Linked DNA regions of Homo sapiens: region 2 is linked to region 1. The links are contacts of gene promoters, found by promoter capture Hi-C in human tissues and cell types (Jung and others, 2019). All regions are on one chromosome and are shown on one strand. Each heading gives the region's core, a stretch centred on a gene start or on the middle of the fragment in contact. The rest is flanking DNA. Distances are from core to core; before and after follow the strand shown. Region 1 holds the start of MEIS2 (Meis homeobox 2). Region 2 has its middle 57 kb from the start of TMCO5A.

Region 1 (3,574 bases), core at 998-3,497:
GAGAGGAAGGGATAAAGATGAGAGAGAGGGAGGGAGGTAAGAGAGAAGAGAGGAGGAGGAGGAAAAGGAGGAGAGGGGGAGAGAGAGAGAGAGAGAGAGAGAGAGAGAGAGAGAGAGAGAGAGAAAATAAAAATAAAAACAAAGTCAGAAAGGAGAAAAGTACCGAGCACAAGTTGAGCACACAGAAACCAAACCAGCCAAAACAACGGAGTTAAAAGTTGTGAGGAAAAAATGTTATTAAATTTAAAAATGAAAAAGCATGAACCAAGAGCAACGTTTAGAGAAGGAAGAGGAGGCGGCGAGGCCGGGGATTTGAGGGGGCGCCGGGAGGCCCCGCTCCCGCCGGAGGCAACAGAACCGTAGCGAGCCAACGGAGGGAGAAGTGGAGTTAGTGTGAGGAGGAAGCCCCGGATCCCACCCCTAACCCCCCTTCGCCTCCTCTGAGGATCCAATAAATCAAAAGGCGAAATGAAACAAAATAAAGAGAAGAAAAACGCTAATAATCAGCACGAGAACGCCGAGGACTAGGAAAGACTAGGGCCAGTGCCTCCCCGGGGGCAGGGAGCGGAGGGTGGGGGGGCGAATAACGTGAAAGTTACCAGAAACATTATTTAGCAGCGGATTCCCTGCGTCCTTGTCAATTTCAGAGACAAAACAAGCAGCCCAGGCTAGTAGTCTAGGCGGCGGCGCAGCGGCTGCGGCAGCGCGGCCCCAGCGGCGGCCCCGGCGGCGGCTCCTACGCAGCCCGTGCCCGCCCCGAGCCGCGCGAGCCACGGCGGCAGCGGCGCAGCAGCGGCAGCAGGAGAACCGGGGGAATCGCGCTGCTGGGGTAAAAGCTGGAGCGAGGCGAAAGCGTGTAACGATTGCACACGCACACACACACACCACTCACACGCACTCGCCGCCCGCCCGCTCGCACAGCGCTGGAACACGCGCGCCCAGACACGCACACACGCACGCACACACACTCGCACACACGCAGAGGCACGGGAGGGAAAGAAGCCGATGAATAATTTTGCTATTTTTTAAAATACTGGCCGCCATCATCAAGCAGCGAGCAGCAGCAGAAGCGTTGAAGGGAGAGGAGGCATCGGGACAGGCCCCTCTTAGGAGAGGATTTATATCTAGGTAAGTGTTGGAGATTTAAACCTACCCTTTGCGCCATCAGTCTGCGCTCCAATAAACTCCTGGATGTGTCGTATATTTAATATCCCAGTCCGGATAAGAAAGTGATCTAGGCTGAAGATTCCTTTTTTTTTTTTCCAAACCAAAGAGACTTCTCCCAATTCTCCAATATGCTATTTTTTAGGGGGGAAAAAAAGCCCAGTCTAGACAACGAAGAATTTTTTTTTCTGTGATATTTCTTCTTTTTCTCTTTTTTCCTCTTCTTCCTCCTCCTCCTGATCTTCCTCCTCCTCCTCCACCTCCTCCTCCTCCCCCCTCCCCTCCTCCTCCTCTTCGGTCCTCCTTTCCCCCTCTTTCTCTTCTCTTCCCCTCAGTTGGAAAAAAAAAGAAAGAAAAGAAAAAGAAGAAAAAGAAGAAAAAAATTGTCAAGCCCCCGAACTGAAGGTTACGAGCGGCCCGTCAGCAGCCCACATGTAACCGAACTGTCGTGTTTCATGGCTTTTTGCCACTCCAGCTGTCAATCAAAGCCCGGAATGTCAAGGTAGTGAATGAATGATGGTTGATGATGATGAAGAGGAGGAATCTTTCAGACCCGTTTTTTTCTTCCAGTAAAACTCCGCGAGGGGTTTCTGCTTCTTGAATTTTTTCCTCCCCCCTCCCCCCTTTTTTAGCTTTGCCCCCGCGGTATCTATAATACGATCCTCTCTCTTTAAAGTATTGTTCAAAGAAAGCAGTGAGAAAAATCAAGAAAAAAAAATGAATAGTTTGCAAAAATTGGACTTCCTCCCCCCCTTTCCTGGTAGGTATTTTGTCTCTCCCTCTCTCTCTTTCTCGCTCGCTCGCTCGCTCTCACTCGCGCTCGCTCTCTCGCGCTCGCTCTCTCTCGCTCTCTTTCTCTCTCTGGGAGATGAGTGAGTGTCAGTAGGTGTTGGCAGGTTGGCTGCTGCCTGGCTTATTGAAGAGCCTCAGTTTGGCGGCGCGGGTCGGCGGCGGGAGAACGAAATGACGGAACCCGGAAGTCGTGGTGGCCATAGCCCGTCGTACGGCGGAGACACATCCCGGGAGTGGGGAGCGGGAGCGAGGAGGAGCGCGCCGCGCCGAGCCTCTGATATGCAACGAGTGCGATCGGACAGCCCCGGCTGGGGGGGTGGGGGAGGCGGGGGGGCGGGAGGGGGAGGGGAGGCTCGAGCCGGGCGGACCCGAGCAAATCAGCAAGCCTGCTCCTCCACGGGGATGGGGGACGGCGGGGGGGAGGAAAAGGAGAGTGTGTCTGTGTGTGTGAGTGTGTGTGTATGTGTGTGCGTGCGCGCGTGTGTGTTGCGCGCGCGCGCGCGCGAACAGGGAGAGAGGGAGAGGGGGAGAGAGAAGAGGACAGGGAGAGCGCAGAGAGGAAAACTGCAGAAAACCACAGGGAAAGTACGGTACCGCCTCAGATCTTTTCATTTAAAAAAAAAAAAAAACTTACTTCTAGTTCATTTTCCCATCACTCCCGGCTCCTGCCTAACTGGGTCTTGCCGGGGACGTTTGGCATGGCGCTCTAGCTTTTGTTCCTTTTAATTCCGCGGCCTCCCTCTCCTCTGCCCGCCGATTACAGCACCCCGAAGGCTTCCTGCTAACGTCCAAGGGCAGCAAGCTCTGCAGACGGTACCACTGCCGGGCTAAATTTTTTATTAAGTGGCACTTTCTTTTCTGCGCAGATCCAGCAACCTTGTCAATACTCATTTTTTTCCAGGACCAGAAGAGACCAGCTTAACTCAGAGCACACTCCCTCCAAGCGGTGCGGACAAGGGGCCACCCCGAGAGTCTTTGGGGGCCGCGGCGGAATCGGGAGGGAGGAAGTGAGGAGGCAGTCATCTGGGTCCGATGTAGCCAAAGGCGTGTGTGTGTGTGTGTGTGTGTGTGTGTGTGTGTGTGTGTGCGCGCGCGCGCCCGCGCGCCCGTGCGCGCGCGCGACTAGTGTGCGTCTCCAAAGTGGATCTCACTCAGAGCTGGGAAGCACAGGAGGAAAAGACGGAGAGAGTGGGGGAGAAAGAAGTTGCCGGGCGAGGAGGAGTGGCCGGCGCTCACAGCCCAGCTTTGTTGTGGTCGCCCGAGGCGCAGCGGCGGGCCGCGGTAACGCCTGCTAATGGCTGTGTTAATTACACAGGGGCGATTTCGCGGGGTCAGGGAGATGGGGCCAGCTCCGAAAGAACTTTTCCAAAAAGGAAAAGGAAACGAAGGGAACTACCCCACACCGTTTGGGTGGAAACTAGTTGTGGCCGGTGCCCTGTCCTCCCTGGCCCGAGCTGCACCAGGCTTCACCTCTGCGCGGCTGGTTTCCCGGCGGCCGCGCGTCAATCACTACGAGCCCGGAGTTGGGGGCGGAGCCACGGTCACCCCGCGCAAGCCTTGCCGCCCAGCAGCCCCCATGCCCCTCGGCCCCTTGTGGCGCGGCCGGGCGGACAGGCGC
Region 2 (3,729 bases), core at 1,072-3,571, 780 kb after region 1:
TTACAAAAAGTAAATGCATGAAGAGGAATTTTGTGTTTCGCATGACTGCAAACCTGATTTTTACTTCTGGTGCTCTAAGAAATCAAAGGCTATTTAGAGTAACATAAAGAATAAAAATGTAATCAGTGGAATAAAGTATTTCTGTGAAGTCTGACAAAGTAGAAATTTGAATTGCAGCCCCAAATATTTAAATAAGCTATTACAAAAGGAGTGCTAGAAACCATTATATTGTGTGATTTCTTTTGAATAATGGAAATGCTCTCTATCAGGTATTTTTGTTTAAATGGAATAAATGTTTGAGAGAGATGGTATTCAGTCATTGTAACCTTCCATGCCACAAGTATTAGAACTGTTATAACTTCATCTTTTGAAAAGGGGACATACACTAAAAAGAAATTCACAGAGTTATGAAAAGAAGTGCAATTTAAGCCTATCCTCCATCTCCATCATTTGCAGATAGATCATTTCTCCAAAAGGACACTGATGAAGACTTTCAAGCATCCTTTCCCTGAGAATTCTCCTGTCAAAGCTAAACAACATTATAGCACTCTTTGGATAATACATCTCCTCCAATTCCAAATGCCATGGTTTGACAGTGCTCTCAGAAGTTCTTAAAGAAATTAAAGATAGACTTCCTATAAATAGATTGCCAATGCCTTTATATTAATTGAATTTGCCATCTCCCAAAGATTCTTTGGTGTGGCTAGCTGAAAGGTAATACAATTTGACCATTATCCACTTAAAGCAATTGAAATAAAATCTGTGTTGCATAGAATTAAAATCATATTTGGTGGCAATATTCATCAATAAGGATCATACCTAATCATACTGGAATGCTCTGAATTTCCCATGTGTAAATAACATTTCCAACTAGAGGCTGGAGGCTGGAGAAGACATTTTGGGTATTTCTCTGTTGTAGTCTGTATTACCATGGTAGCAGAAGGAGCACCAGACGGAGAGTTAGAGGACTGGGTAGAAGTCCTGGCATGACCACCATGTGTGTCCAGATGAATCCTGTCCTGTCTATGGACCTGAGTCGCTATTGATCTAAAATGTGACCAGATGATCTAGAAACCTCTCTCCTCCTCTGCAATGGTATGCCTCATCTGAGTAAACACGAACAGGAAGACAATGTGAGATGTTGCTGAGAGAATGTTATTACACCTTGGGTCTTCAGAAATCGGGTTTTTCCCAAAGTTACTGTGTCTCAGCCAGAGCCCCGCAGCATTTTGCTATCATATAAAAGACTAAATATGGAAAATGCTTGTCTGCTAAAGTGAATAGGAAAATGCAAAAATTTTTAAGTCATTTAAATATTTAACCAGAGCATAACAATTTATAATTTATAATTTATTATATTTTAAATAACTTTCAGAAAGAAATTCTGCACAGTTGCTCAGATTGCTTGAGAGTGAAGATTGCCCTCAAGAAAACAAAGCACAACAAAAAAAGTCTTTTGTTGTTGTTATTATTGCTGCTATCCTAGCATTTTAGGTCTAAAATAAATTCTCCTCCAATTAATATTGACAGGCCTCCTTTCTGAAGATCATAGTTCTGATACAAATAACTTTTCCATGGGTGTTTTTTATTTGGCTCTGTGGTGGTAAAATGCTAGCTACTGTTTACAGAGAATTTATGTGAACATTCCTGGGATATGAATTATCAGAGAGAAGCAGTGAATGCATTATATGAGAGAAGTATTAAATTCCTCTTCTCACTTGCTAAAGAAATACCTGATTTCTGGTAACTTATTCTCTATTCTCTATACCTGAGAAACCCGAGTGTGAGAATGAAAACAGCCCCCCGACCCTGTTCACGAAAGGATCACTGTGGCCACAATGTCAGTGCACAGTCTTGACTTCACCCCCATCCCCCGGTCTGTTCCACTTTTCCTTTTTCGTTCTCCAGTTATTGCCATGAACCAGAAACTTCCCACAGCATCTCACGGTGTTTTCTTGAAAATAACAATGCTATTAGAACACAACAAATACATAAACAAATCAATGACAGCAAAATGACAGAGTTTTGAATCATCGTGTCTAGGTGGCAGAAAAATTTCTCCTCATCCTCAAAAATATATAAAACTATTGGAAGTTTGCAGGAAATTTTTTCAATTATGTTCTTTAAAACTCTTCTCTTCAAGTAAAATTCTCTCTTAACAATGAAATTTATGAGAGATACTCACACATTTAGAGTAGACGAATGTGAAACTGGTAGGTCTTCATCATAGTTTGTCTTTACATCTGTGCATGTTTACATCTCATACCTAAATACCGATTTAAATTTTTTAACAAACATAACACTTAAATTCCATTTATTATTTCTTGTAAATCTCAATATATAAACCAAATATAAGATGCACCCAGTTTATCTCTCATTTCTCTAATTACATATGCAATGGTGCCTATTTACCAGGCAGTGCCTGCTTGATCCGAACTTTCCAGTGGATTTTAGATGACTCTGTCAGTTACACAACCAGGTTAGTTCAAAGACAGCGAAAAGCACTTGCATCCAAATGAAATCTATATTTGGTAATTCTTAAAATATCATTTTTCCATGGCTTTGTAGGGCATATTGCTTACTCAGATAATGTGCATGCCTTTCCAGTGAGGCAGTTTTTTGAAATGTGATCTTGGGTCACTTTATGTTAAACTTACTTACTCCACACATAGGATGAGTAATGCCAGATAAAGTACTGTCATTAAAAGCATTTTTATTAAGGGGCTAGTAGAGAAAACCTTTAAGCAATGTTATCAAGCTCTTTGTTGAACCAGGTGGGACATCTATATGAATAGGATCTCTTCAGACCTAGACCTCAGCCACAGCACACCTGGCCTATGTTTGGAAAAGAAAGTCTCTCTTGTTTGGCTACATAGTCGGTTACAAAGAGCCAAGACAACTTTAATTTATCCGTTAAGAATGGAGGCCCATATTTAAGAGTCATCAGCAATAAAGGAAAATACACTGGATCATTTCAAGTGCATGCTAATCATTTAATGTAATAAATGGAGCAACTCTAATTATCTCCTGAGGAAATGATTTCACACTAAAACAATGGGAATGAAGAGGTTACTTCAGGAGCATAATACCCAGCTGAAAGTTACTCATGTGAATCTGGAGATTTCTCTTGCATTTCAGGGGGGAGGGACTTTTTCCCCCACAGCCCTAATTCAGTTGCCTCCTTAACGGGGTTAAAGATATTTAGCACTGACCCTGCCGTGTGCTTGTTTTGTAACCCCAAGCAAAGCTCTCACCAAGCTCAAGATCGGTGTCCTTCCTGACTGCTTTGAAAGCTGCTCCCTAATAAGAGGGTATCTGACTTCAATGCAGCAAAACAAATAAATTAGTCTAGAGATCACTGTAACCTCCTCACTTCCTATTCCTTGCCTCCCCCAAAATGATCAATCTGCCACCTACGCTAGCCATTGCAAAAGAATTTCCAGTGAAATGCTTGAAATAATTTTTTAAATGTTTCAATCTGTCGTGACCAATATTTTTAAAAATTTTAAGTGTAGTTTTTTAAAGCTATTTTTGTTTACTTGTTGGCATCACAAAATTAAGGTTAAGAAATATAATGGAGGATTTGGGGAAGAATAAAATGTTTTAATGATTTGGTTGCTTCTCTTGCAAAAGACAGATTTCACCATAAGCTTAAAATGGTTTGCTAAATTCTATATTTCTGTTGCCTCATTGTTCTGTTTCTTTTGATGAAACACATAAAATGAACAC

The links. Contacts are between HindIII fragments. The study calls those that stand out against the background at their distance.
Region 2: a contact is called between a fragment that was not itself captured here and the fragment with the promoter of MEIS2 in region 1, in 1 of the 25 tissues and cell types used here (dorsolateral prefrontal cortex).

The regions. Positions count from the first base shown.
Region 1 is chr15:37,098,302-37,101,875 of GRCh38, forward strand. It overlaps MEIS2 (Meis homeobox 2), which reads right to left and starts at 2,248. Exons shown (of 12, transcript NM_170675.5): 1 at 1,154-2,248. The coding sequence starts at 1,165. LOC124903465 (a long non-coding RNA gene) reads left to right here and starts at 947. Exons shown (of 2, transcript XR_007064581.1): 1 at 947-1,128; 2 at 1,500-3,574. RefSeq lists silencers at 620-819, 970-1,029, 3,479-3,574 and enhancers at 2,089-2,248, 2,499-2,778. The HindIII fragment of the contact is 11,980 bases long and covers 1-3,574 here.
Region 2 is chr15:37,875,471-37,879,199 of GRCh38, forward strand. No RefSeq gene overlaps it. Among named protein-coding and RNA genes, the nearest start is that of TMCO5A, 57 kb to the right of the region's middle. The HindIII fragment of the contact is 5,498 bases long and covers 1-3,729 here.